Regions from separate parts of the Homo sapiens genome. Here regions 1 and 3 are each linked to region 2. The links are contacts of gene promoters, found by promoter capture Hi-C in blood cells and fetal thymus (Javierre and others, 2016). All regions are on one chromosome and are shown on one strand. The core of a region is centred on a gene start or on the middle of the fragment in contact, and the rest is flanking DNA. Distances in the headings are between cores, read along the strand shown. Region 1 holds the start of TWSG1 (twisted gastrulation BMP signaling modulator 1). Region 2 holds the start of PPP4R1 (protein phosphatase 4 regulatory subunit 1). Region 3 has its middle 13 kb from the start of TXNDC2.

Region 1 (3,827 bases), core at 1,207-3,706, 280 kb before region 2:
GCACCTGTAATCCCAGCACTTTGGGAGGCCGAGGTGGGCAGATCACCAGGTCAGGAGTTCAAGACCAGCCTGGCCAACATAGTGAAACCCCATCTCTACTAAAAATACAAAAAATTAGCCGGGCGTGGTGGTGTGCGCCTGTAATCTCAGCTACTCGGGAGGCTGAGGCAGAAGAATCTCATGAACTCGGGAGGCGGAGGTTGTAGTGAGCCGAGATGGCAGCGTTGCACTCCCGCCCAGGTGAAAGTACAAGACTCTGTCTCAAAAACAAACAAACAACAACAAAATTAATTATTCAAAAACTATGCAGTACTTTAAAATTTTTTATGTATCATGAATATCTCTAGTCGCAATATTCATCTGCAACACTAATTGTCATAGTGTGATCTGGGGCTGCTAGGGAGGGATCCCAAGACATTTTCAGGAGGTTGTGAGCTCAAAATTATTTTAATTTTAATTCTAAGGCATTATTTGACTTTTCACCCTCATTCTCTCACAAGCAGAAACTACATAATACATGATACTGCAACAGTTTGAATACAGAAGCAGATATAAAAACAGTGGCTATTAAGTTTGATGTTAAAGGCAATAGCAAAAATCTAAAACCACGCTGTTCTTCCTACTGTTTTAAAATATATACTTATTTTTCATTAAATATTTGTTATCATATAATGGGTTTGTTATTTTTAAATGAAATAATGAATATGTAAAAAATTGTTTTAATTTTGAAAGTATTAACAGATGTAGCACACATACACAAAACCTCTTTGGCATGCTCCATAATTTTCAGGAGTGTAAAGGGATTCCGAGACGAAAAAGTTTGAGAACCTCTGATCTGCGGTATCACTTTTTAATGGCTGAATTAGTGCATTGATCGGAAGTTTCCTAATTCACTTAACTAGTATATAATGCCAAGAATAAGATTCTTATACTTAAATTTGGGTATACCCTTAATTATTTCTCTAGGATAATTTTCAAGGATGATTTTTAAAACCCATATTTATTGTACAAAAGTGGGCTAACATCAGTAATGCAATCCACCCCCAGCCAATCAGCTGTTTTCATTCTGTTTCCTTCCAATCAACAAAGGTGGGTGGTAGGCATTTACGATTTACCAGCATAAGGGTTTGACACTAGGTCATCATTTCCAAGGGAAGGTGCCCCGCGGACGGTCTGGTCTAGCGGGCTCTAACTTAATCACCCTGGAATCTTCTTTAAAAAGCAAATTCCGGCCGGGCACTATGGTTCACACCTGTCATCCCAACGATTTAGGAGACCGCGGTGGGAGGATCGCTTGAGCCCCGAAATTTGAAACCAGCTTGGGCAACATAGCAAGACCTCCATATCTACAAAAAAATAAAATATTAGCCAGGCGTGGTGGTGCGCGCCCGTAGCCCCAGCTACTCGGGAGGCTGAGGCGGGAGGATTGCTTGAGCCTAGGAGGTGGAGGCTGCAGCGAGCCTGATGTTGTCACTGCCCTCCAGCCTGGTGAGAGTGAGACCTTGTCTCAAAAGAAAAAAAAAAAAAAGCAACCCAGAGTTGTGGGAAAGAACTGAGTGTCATTCTCAATGTTTTTAACCTACGTGCTAACCGCGCACCTTCTACCTAGGCTGCGCGACCTCCGCGCCCGGATCCATGGCGCCCCCTCTTCTCGACTCCCGATGCAGAGCTCCGATGCAGAGCTCAGCGCCAGCCACTCACAAGGAGCCTGGCAAGTTTTATCGAATTGGTGAACGAAGTTCGAAAGCTCTACCCTTGGAGATCCTTATTCAGTAGGTCTGAGGTAGACCTAGGAAACGCGCATTTTATATAAATCCTACCTCTGACGGCAAACGACAAGGGGTTCACGTGCCAGCTCTCCTCGGCGACGCGCTAGGCTACTCAGCGCCCCGAGCCTCGGCCTCGCATCGCTAGAACCCGGCCATGGCCGCTTCCTTACAGGGCAGCTGTGAGGAGTCCTGAGGAATTTTAGTACACGGCATATCCTCAGCGTAGTGGCTAGCACATCACAAGGCTTTAATCTTAACACTGTTGATCTTAACACTGCAACTGAGGGGGCCCGGAGAATGGGCCTGACAGGAGGGTCTGTCGGAACCTGAGGGACTGGGGATCCCGGTGCGGAGAAGCGCGAAGGGAAATCGCGTTGAGCAGCTGGGGTGGGTGCGCCTGGGGGCGTGGCCTGCGGGCCGGCGGGCGGGCGGGAGCCTGCGGTGGAGGCGTGGCACGAGGGAGGGGCGAAACCGGGTGGCGCGGAGGGGGCGTGGCGTTGGGAGGGGCGGGGGGAGTGGGCGGGGCCGAGATGGGGGCGTGCGCGCTGACAGGAGCGCCGGGGGAGTGAGAGACGCCTCCTGGCGGGAGCTGGCGGCTGTGGACCCCAGCGGGGGCGGAGGGGAAGAGGGGAGCAGGGGCGGGGAGCAAGGAGCCGGGAGGAGGGCGGCGGGCGGGCCTGTCTCTTTAAGGTGCCCGAGGCTCGCGGGCGCTGCGCTGAGGGGACGGCGGGAGGCGCGGCCTGGCCTCGCACTCAAAGCCGCCGCAGCGCGCCCCGGGCTCGGCCGACCCGGCGGGGATCTAGGGGTGGGCGACTTCGCGGGACCGTGGCGCATGGTGAGTGGGAGCGGCTGGGGGGTTGTGCAGCCTCTTGGCCTCTTGGTTGGGAAGGGGCCGGGCGCCGAGCTCGGCCCTCTAGAGGCCCGGGGCCGCGGCGAGCTTCGCGGGGGCCGGGAGAAGCCTGGGCCCGGCTGCGCGGAGGACAAAGTGGGGGTGCTGGGCGCGGGCGCACAGGCCGGACGCCGGGAGCCAGCAGCATCTCTGCGCCGCTTTGGTCCAGACCATCTCTGGGCCGGCCCGCGTCCTCCGCAGCCCGCGTCGGCCGAGCCGGGGTGGGGGTGGTTCCGGGTGCCCGGTCCCCCACACCGCTACCGGCCTCTGCCTCGCGGGGCGTCCGGCGCCTTCGGGGCCCTGGCACCGCTCTACAGAGGCTCGGCTCTGCCCTGGTCGCTGTCAGTGCCATCTCCCTTAACGAGAAACTTGGGCGTGATGTATGCGAAACAATTTTGATGCATGATGGTTTCTAACTCCTTAGGAAAAGATAAGTCCTTTAATTCTATTACCTGATTTCGACATGGTCGTAGTTACTTGAATACTTTTTCCAGTGAAATTTGGGGAGTAAGATGAATTTGTGGAACATTTCATAAGACAACCGTAAAAGATGGGAAAGGGGGGAAATCCCAGTTTTCATGGTTGTAGGATGAAAACTAGTTCCACGACAGTTAGTCTCCAAATAACCTTATTTGGCCTCCGCAAATATGTACTGGTTGCTCCAGAAATCATCCTACTTGGTATGCGGCGTTAGATACATTAGAAAATTAGTTACTAACGGTCTTTAGGGAATGCTTTGTGAGCCTCAGTAACGATCACCAGGGTTTTCTCTTTCAAAATTGACTCATACCAGGTCCAAAGCCCTTTATTCTTTTCACCCTTTTATTATTTTTCCTTTAATGTACTTTGTAACACTTAGAATAAAAGTTTAGAGTAATCATAAATGCCCCCATAAACTCACTATTTATCCCTCTTACGTCAGTAGTCATTTATTTTAATTTATTATGTTTGATAGGGAGGTGTTTTAACCTGAAGAAATGATATCTTCCCGTATTTAAAGTTTAATAACTGTATACTGTTTGGCCCCTGTCAGACTGTGTTTGTGCTAGTCTTTTTTCCTTCTTCTTTTTGAACTGTAGTATCTTCTTAATAACTTTGAAGAATGTGTGGTACTAATAGAATTAAAAGAATATCTTGGCCGGGCGCGGTAGCTCACCCCTGTAATCCCA
Region 2 (4,262 bases), core at 1,763-4,262:
GTTCCTGAATATTCTGGGTAAAGGTATCACCTGTAAAAACTTTAGTAACTGAGAAAAATAAGCAATTACTCTAACAAAGCCTTCAACCAAATTATGAATATGCAAATAACTATTGTGCCTTCAATGTCTGTTTTATCCTAAATTAAAATGCACAGGAAACAGAATCTTTAAAAAGTTAGTTGCAGCCGGGCGCAGTGGCTCACGCCTGTAATCCCAGCACTTTGGGAGGCCAAGGCAGGTGGATCACCTGAGGTCGGGAGTTCGAGACCAGCCTGATCAACATGGAGAAACCCCGTCTCTACTAAAAGTACAAAATTAGCCAGGCGTGGTGGCACACGCCTGTAATCCCAGTTACTTGGGAGGCTGAGGCAGGAGAATCACTTGAACCCGGGAGGCAGAGGTTGCGGTGAGCCGAGATCGCGCCATTTTGCACTCCAGCCTGGGCAACAAGAGTGAAACTCCATCTCAAAAAAAAAAAAAATTTAGTTGCGAGCATTGGCAGCATCTTTAAGTACCTTCATTCTGTAAGGTTCAACATCAGTGTTTCCTTCTCTGCTCTTCTTTTAAGCTTCCCTTGCTCTTTTCTCATAACAGCAAACATAATCATAATCATCGCTGTTTACCAGGAATTGTTCCAAGTGCTTCAGAGGCACTAACTCATGTACAGCCTTGAACAACTCTATGAAGTAGGTAATATTTCTTATGCCTACTTACAAATGACAAAACTGAGGCATAGGGAGGTTAAGTGAGTTGCCCAAGTCTGCCCAAAAAGACACTGCTAAGACAAACAGAGCAGCCTGGCTCCAGTGGTAACTGTAATACTGTACTGTACACCTAGATTCAAAACTGCTTGTAAACCACTAGAGGGCATGGGTTGTGCCCATCTTTCTCAAAGCTCCATCCCCAGTACCTGGCAGAGTGTTGAAACTCATGGTTGAATTTTTCACAGGTATGCCTTCCCCTCTACACTGTGCTTCTTGGGGGCTAAGGAAGAAACTGAGACTGCATTTCATCCTTCAGGAGTGAGAAGTTTTTGCTCCAGTCATAAATACTTGCTGAATAAATGAATCTTCTATTTACGAAGTCGAACATAAATATAAAAAGCCCTCCTCGAGGTAACATAATCAGGGCCATTTCTCCAATCCTAACCTGGCAAGAGATCTGAAATCAACAGATGCCTTAAATAATATCTCAAACTTACTATTAGGCAGATAAGTGGCTTAAGGTAAACATTAAATAAAATGTTAAAGCTGCCCTTCACTACATGAGTACTGCTCCCTTTAAGAGAGCTGTTTTGAGCCACCTCACTAAAAACACAGACTTAGCAAAAGTTTGGATGTGGTTCATTTACTTTAAAGATAAATTACTCGTTTCAGATAATCCATCTAAATAGTAAATCCCCCTTACTTTACTCAAAACAACCAGGAATCTAAAAATTAAGTTTACTCTGAGTAAGGGAACCACATTAGACAATGCTAAGGATTAACTACAGAGTATTTAAAAGAGTAATTTCAAACTGCAGCCATCTCTGAAATTACTTATACAGGTACTAGACAGTCAATCTCAGCATCCGGTAGGCTTTCCACTAAACAGACCACAATCCTACTATGGTTATCATCTCAACTCAGAACAATTTCTTGGTCCCTTATGTATCCCATGATCTTCGCTTATATATTTTGCACACTCTGCATTTTTAAAATGCATCTCAAAACCTATTGATTTTTTGATGGGTCGCTATTTTGGAAGATTAGCAAGAATAGAAACTATTTTAAGTTAACTGCAATTTGTCACTTCTTTCAATACAAACCTGCTTAACTCTTTTGTCTTTTCTATCGTGACCCAAATTATTTTCTGAGGCTTAGAAAAGTACATATAAGACGAAAAATTCCTTTCTAAATATCAATTCCGTCGCCATCAGGAAATGTCAGAAACTTTGTCTTTTTAAAAATAAAAGCGTCAACTCTTTAAAAACTTCAGTACCTCAAAGGAAAGCTGCACTGTTAACACTGAAGGAGGGCTGGGTGATTTCTGAACATCCGCATTAAAGAAATATGCTCTCCAAACCTAGTAATTCCTGCGGAGGCCACACCTTCTAACCTTCTCGTAATCCACTAATCAAATCGGGAGCATCTGAAAACTGCTACCAGCCAAAGTAAAATGACAGGTATGTCATCCTCAAACAATCCAAAACCGGGTCGGGGAGCCCAGACGGCTAGCCGGGGCCCAGGCTGACCCCCGGGCGCTCCTGGAAGAGCGACTCTAAGGAAACACACCTCCCGCGCGAGCCTCTTCCTTCCTAGAGTGACGGGGGAAGGGGACACCAGGGGCAGAAACACACCCAAACCCCACTTCAAATCCTGCCCCACCGCTTCTCCTTCCAAAACAGCCGCGCCACTGCTGAGCCCGCAGGCGATTCGGGGGCGCCGGGAGAAGAGAGCGAAGGGCGGAAAGCGAACTTGGGCGTTACTCCGGGCGTCTCCCTCCCCCAGCGGAACCTGGGCGCGCCGTTTCCTCACGGACGCGAGATTTTCCCCCCCGATCGCCACCCCAGCCCGCCTGGGGCCGCCCTCGCCCACCGTCCCCTCAGCCAGCCAGGGCCCGGCCCAGGCCTCGCCGCCGCCCGCCCTCCCCGGCCGCTCCCCGCGGACTGCCAGGCCACCGCGAGGCCGGGCCACTCACATCCGTCTGCGTCCTCCTGCAGGTCCTCCTGAAGCAGCGAGAGGTCTGCGCCGAGGGGAGAGAAGAAAGGCCCGGTCAGCGCCCCGGGGCCCGGCGCGACGCCCCCCCCCCGCCCGCCTCCCCCCCGCCCCGGGGGCGCCTTCCCGCGCCGGGACCCCACGCCGGCCCCGGCCCGGCAGCCACTCAGGGCTGCGGCGGAGGGCGGGTGGGCTCGAGGAGCCGCCGCCGCCCGGAGAACAGGGGGCCACGTACCCGCCATCTTGTGGTCGCCCCCTCCTCCGCGGCCGCCCGGGGAGCCGGGGCTACATGGAGCGGCGCGAGCCGGGGAGCCGGTGGACGCGCGCGGGAGGGGCGGCGGGGAGGAGGAGGGCCGGGCTGGCGGGGGCGCGCGCGCGGGGCGGGCCGAGGGCCCGGGCCTGCCGCGGGCGGCGCGGCTCCCGGCCGCCCGGGCCCCCGGCCGCGCCCCGCCCCGCCCCGCCTGCCCCTCCGCGCGGCTCCCGGGCGACCGGCGCTCCCGCCTCCCGCCTTTCCCGCTGCTTGCCGGGTCCCGGCCCGGCGACGCGCGCTCACACCCTCCTCCCGAGCCGCCCTCACGCCGAGCGCTGCGGACGGGGGCGCGCAACCTGCCGCCGGCCGGGACCCTGCGGCGAGTGCCGGAACCCGGCCGGGCGGGGCCTCCCGCGGCCCGGCCGCTTTATTGGGTCACCGGCCTCGCCCACCGCCCTGCCAGCCGCAGCCATCTCGGCGGGCGCGCCGCTCGCAGCCAGCGCCCCATCCCCAGGCCTGCACGTACGTCGTCGGCGATCCGGGGCCGGGGGCGGCTCCGAGGTCGTCGGGGCCGGGGTCCCACCTCCTCTTGGAGGAAGCGCCGCCTCCCCACCCGCCCGGGGCCCTCGCCAAGTGGCTGCTAACAAAGCCCAGGGCCCGGCTGCGGGATGGTTGACTGACAAAGTCATGCCTGCCTAGCCAGCTTCCTCGTGCAGCACGGTGAAGGCTGGGGCGCCGGGTTTTTACTCCCACGTCCTGCCAACTCGAGCTGACAAGGCGGGCAATCCACCAGCGGGAGCGTTGGCAGGCCCGGGGTCAGATCCTGATTCAGCCAGTTAATTGGTAGGAGTGGGGCCCATTTGTAGAATGAAGGTGATAACTGCCTCGTGGGGTTATTGGCATTAAATGAAGAATGTAGGGAACCTAGCATGGTTCTTGATGTCTAGGAGGTGCTCGGTGAAGGGTGCCTATGATTCGCTTTGTCTTCTAAATACTTTTGGCAGCACTTGAGGTGTTAAAGTCTGTATCCCAGACTTTATTAGTCTTGTTGTTTTACGTGACTTAAGCGATTAGCTCAAACGCCCAAGTACAAAATGGGGCTAAACCCAGGTTTTCCGACACGATTCTACCTCCATGGCTCTATCTCCAGCTCCACCCAAGGCCTCCAAAATGGTGTTCTCCTAAAGTGACCAACAAAACACCAAGCTGTGTCATGGTGCCACTTTGGCGATGTGGTCTCTTAGGAGAGGGAATTCTAAGTAGTTAATTAGCTTGTTCCTTTCTACGTTGTAGTCTTGACCAAGGACAATGTGTTG
Region 3 (4,411 bases), core at 1,457-3,956, 260 kb after region 2:
TTATTGCAAATTAAGTAAAATTGCAACTCTGTAACCTGTGGTGAAATGCCCCTTTCATTTAGCCCAGCCTCCATCCTGGCCCCATCGCTGCCCAGGGTCCCTGCTCCTGCCCACATCACACCCTGGTTGCTTTCTCCTAACTGGAAGGCCATCCATCTTTGCTCCTCTCTGCCTGGCAATATACCACCCTGCGTCGGAGGCTGGGAAGCAATTTTAGGAGGCTTTCCTGGATCTCCCCAGGAGGAATCAGAGTCACCATAGAATTGGGGGCAGCAGGTTAGCCTATAAGTTAGGGTCAAATCGTGTTCACCAGAGACAGTGCATTTTTTGCACTAAACATCATGAGTCTAGTATTAAAATGTCATTTTTCTTCTCTACACTCAGTGTTGTAGCAGGAGACCAGGAAGTTAATTGTGATGACCTTCGTGAGTCAAAAAAGAGAAACTCACAAGATATGGGCACTTTGATCCTATCGTGCAAGTTTTCATTGAGTGTCTGGGTTATTCCACACTGCGCTGTAAAGACTGCAGATACCAAGGCATATCTTACCCTCAAGAAGCCTATATTTGGACTGGGAAAGAGAGATTTGTACCATATAACATCATTTCATGAAATGCATGGTGCTGACGGGACTGTGTTAATCTGTGACATTTTACCCTTTTTTTGGTTTAAACATTTGTTTTTCAATATTATGATTTTAAACTTTGGATGTATTGGAAACATGGGAATAGTGTCTTTCACCTCTCTCCAATTTCCTTTATTTCTTAAAATTAACGCATAATAATTGCACAGATTTATGGGGTACATAGTGATGTTTTGATACATACAATATATAGTGATTCTCCTTTTTCTTTACTCAGAGGCTAAGGTGGAGATGGTGGTCTGCCAGATGTTCATAAAGATCATTTCAGCAAAAATATTTTTTAAATTAAGTGTTTTAGTATAAACCTTCTTCAACTGTTTTCCATTATACAAGCTGTAATCCATCCATGCCTTTATTCATTCATGCATTAAGGGCCCACTGAATGCCACATTTGCTTACGGTGAGAATGAGCTTGGACCCTTCCCAGGAAGGAAGGTATTGACCATCTGTCTGAACATCTAAACATTGTCTGAACGTCGAAGCTACAATACACTAAAAGATGATTACTGGGGGCCTGCTGCTTTGCTTCTTTCTACCTGCTCCACCCCACTGTGGCTCCATTCGTTCTGAAGGCAGATGTAGCCTATAGTAGTCTGCTCACTTGTCTGGCTTCTTTAGAAGGTGGGCGTTGGTAGATTCAAAGAACAGCAAGCAGACAGCAACGTCTTTACACCATGAACTATGGTGCATTTGATAAATATTTTTAGTGGCATATTTGTATTAAAACATCAACAAACTTACACCTACCCTGAATCTTACCGAAGCAGCTCCACATGGAATTTTTCAGTAAATACTTACACCAAAGAGCTTTAAACATTACACTAGAAAGTCAGAAGTGGTCAGAGTAGGACCACTGCTCACAGCTCTATCTTGGCAGGGTACCCATGGATCCTCAGTTAGATTTTCAGACTCTTTAGAGTGGAATCTAGAAGAGAAATCTTTCTTCTGCTAATACTGCTCACCTCTTGTAATAGACATTGCAGGTACCCTCTCCAAGCACAATTTCTTAGCACTGGCCTCTATTCTCAGATGACTGCTCACTGCAAACACCTGTGATGCTTTCAGGGTGGTTGTGGGGACATGCAGGGCCTGTGCCTAGGGCAAGCAGAGGTGCCAGGCTTACTGCCCCTAGACAAAATGTTCCAATGAAGTCTAGAGAGTTGGCATTACTCCCTCCCAGCTTGCCTTTGGTGTGAGCTTCAGTTGTACACAGTGGCAACTGACTTGATCACCTTCCAACTCCCCCTCCAGTGTCTCCTGGGATTATCTCCCAAATAAACTACTTGCACTCAAATTTTTGTCTTAGGATCTGCTTTTCAGAGTTTAACTAAAGTTTATAATTTTTTATTCAGTGATGAAATAAACAATAAACAAAACAACATGGGAATGCCATAAATGCGTATTGCTAAGAGAAAGAAGTCAGTCTGAGAAGGTTGCATACTATATTATTCCATTTTGTGACATTCTGGAAAGACAAAACTATAGAGACAATGAGCAAATCAGTGGTTGCTGTGGGTTTGCAGAAGGATGAGGGCTGACTAGGTGAAGCACATATTTTTTTAGGGCTATGAAACTATTCTGTATGGTACTGTAGTGGTGGTTAATAATACCATCTATTGGCTGGGAGCAGTGGCTCATGCCTGTAATCCCAGCACTTTGGGAGGCCAAGGTGGGCGGATCACGAGGTCAGGAGTTTGAGACCAACCTGGCCAACATGGTGAAACCCCATCTCTACTAAAAATACAAAAAATTAGCTGGGCGTGGTGGCAGATGCCTGTAATCCCAGCTGCTCAAGAGGCTGAGGCAGGAGAATCACTTGAACCCAGGAGGCGGAGGTTAGAGTGAGCCAAGATAGTGACATTGTACTCCAGCCTGGGCAACAGGAGTGAAATTCCGTCAAAAAAAAAAAAAACCCACAAAAAACAAAAAACAAACAAACAAAAAAAAACCCATCCATTTGTCAAAACCCAAAGGACTCCACAGCACAAAATAATATATGCAAATTTGAAAAAAACGACCGACAGAACAGGGTTCTAGGATGAAATGAAGATTGTGACAAAAGAATATACAGTCATAGCCTGGGTAGCATAGCGATACCCTGTCTCTACAAAAAAAATACAACAATTAGCCAGGCATTGTGGTGCACAACTGTAGTCCCAGCTACTTGGGGGACTGAGGTGGCAGGATTGCTTGAGCTTGGGAGGTTGAGGCTACAGTGAGCCTGTGTTCACACCACTGCACTCCAGACTGGGCAACAAAGTGAGACCCTGTCTCAAAAAAAGAAAACAAAAAAGAATATACAGTCATGCATCACTTAATGACAGGGATACATTCTGAAAAATGTGTCATTAGGTGGTTTCATCATAGTGTGAACATCATAGAGTGAAATTAAACAAACGTAGATAGTACAGCCTATTGCTCCTAGGCTATAAACCCCTAGAGCATGTTACCATACTGAATACTGTAGGCAATTATAACTTGATGGTATTTGTGTGCCTAATCCATACCTAAACATAGAAAAGATGCAGTAAAAATATGCTATAAAAGATTGAAATGGCCGGGCGTGGTGGCTCACGCCTGTAATCCCAGCACTTTGGGAGGCAGAGGCTGGCAGATCACCTGAGGTCAGGAGTTCAAGACCAGCCTGGCCAACATGGTAAAACTCCGTCTCTACTAAAAATACAAAAATAGCTGGGTGTGACGGTGGGTGCCTGTAATCCCAGCTACTTGGGAGGCTGAGGCAGAAGAATCACTTGAACCTGGGAGGTGAAGGTTGCAGTGAGCCGAGATCGTGCCGTTGCACTCCAGCCTGGATGCCAAGAGCGAAACTCCATCTCAAAAACAAAAAAAGTTAAAATGGTACATCTTCATAGGGCACTTTCTGTACATAGGAAGTTGCTCTGGGTGAGTCAGTGAGTGAGCGGTGAATGTAAAAGCCTGAGACATGCCTGTACATTATTGTGTACTTTATAAACACTGTACCTTTAGTCTACACTAAATTTATTTTAAAAATAATTTTGCCATGACATTAGGGCAGCCATGATGCCACTAGCTAATAGGAATTTTTCAGTTCTGTTATAATCTTATGGGACCACTGTTGTATGTGCAGTCCATCACTGACCAAATGCCATTATGTGGTGCATGACTTTAACTATATTACAAATGTGTGATATAACTTCACTGAAGGTGTCAGGAGAAAGAAATGCTGATGTTAAGTAACTTTGGAAATGCGGGAAACTATAAAACTAAAGATAAAAGGAACTATATGTACAAGCACTGTGCTCCAGTTGATAAAGTTGCTAACCGTGGAGGTACAGGTTAACTATCCTGAAACCATTCTACATGCATATTGGGATTGGGCAAATAGGTAAATGGTTGGTGGATGATGGGAACCAAGTCACTTTTGGAGTAGAAGGTTACAGACAAGCAAGAGAGAAAGGCTGAAAGGAGCCACGTGGTACTGAATTAGACTTGAGGACATCGGTATGAACTCATGTTTGGCTTAATATAGATACTGATAGGCAGATATAGAAGTAATTATAATTTGTGTATATGCAAGGGTTACTATATATACATATATATACACATACATATATGTATATACTTCCTAATCATGTTCACGGGGAGGGTCTAGAGACAATGATACCCAGCATCAATGAACACACCTAGCCTAGGTCTTGGTTTCTAAATACTATTCTCCAGTTTTAAAAAACCTAGAAATGGATGATTCTATGGCTCGGGCAGTGAATATACAGGATGAACCAGGAG

The links. The method cuts DNA at HindIII sites, captures the fragments that hold promoters and counts their contacts. A CHiCAGO score of 5 or more calls a contact.
Region 1: the fragment with the promoter of TWSG1 here is called in contact with the fragment with the promoter of PPP4R1 in region 2 in 11 of 17 cell types (naive CD8 T cells, neutrophils, fetal thymus and 8 more); the score reaches 16.6 in naive CD8 T cells.
Region 3: a contact is called between a fragment that was not itself captured here and the fragment with the promoter of PPP4R1 in region 2, in 1 of 17 cell types (neutrophils). The highest score is 7.0, in neutrophils.

The regions. Positions count from the first base shown.
Region 1 is chr18:9,332,317-9,336,143 of GRCh38, forward strand. It overlaps TWSG1 (twisted gastrulation BMP signaling modulator 1), which reads left to right and starts at 2,457. Exons shown (of 5, transcript NM_020648.6): 1 at 2,457-2,604. It overlaps TWSG1-DT (TWSG1 divergent transcript), which reads right to left and starts at 2,153. Exons shown (of 3, transcript NR_183523.1): 1 at 1,821-2,153. RefSeq lists a silencer at 2,158-2,947 and enhancers at 2,745-3,245, 3,008-3,057. The HindIII fragment of the contact is 11,774 bases long and covers 1-3,827 here.
Region 2 is chr18:9,611,547-9,615,808 of GRCh38, forward strand. It overlaps PPP4R1 (protein phosphatase 4 regulatory subunit 1), which reads right to left and starts at 3,013. Exons shown (of 20, transcript NM_001042388.3): 1 at 2,932-3,013; 2 at 2,680-2,724. The coding sequence starts at 2,938. It overlaps PPP4R1-AS1 (PPP4R1 antisense RNA 1), which reads left to right and starts at 3,261. Exons shown (of 3, transcript NR_110773.1): 1 at 3,261-3,468. RefSeq lists an enhancer at 2,130-2,209 and silencers at 2,480-2,729, 2,830-3,099, 3,200-3,709. The HindIII fragment of the contact is 7,461 bases long and covers 567-4,262 here.
Region 3 is chr18:9,871,257-9,875,667 of GRCh38, forward strand. No RefSeq gene overlaps it. Among named protein-coding and RNA genes, the nearest start is that of TXNDC2, 13 kb to the right of the region's middle. The HindIII fragment of the contact is 7,302 bases long and covers 1-4,411 here.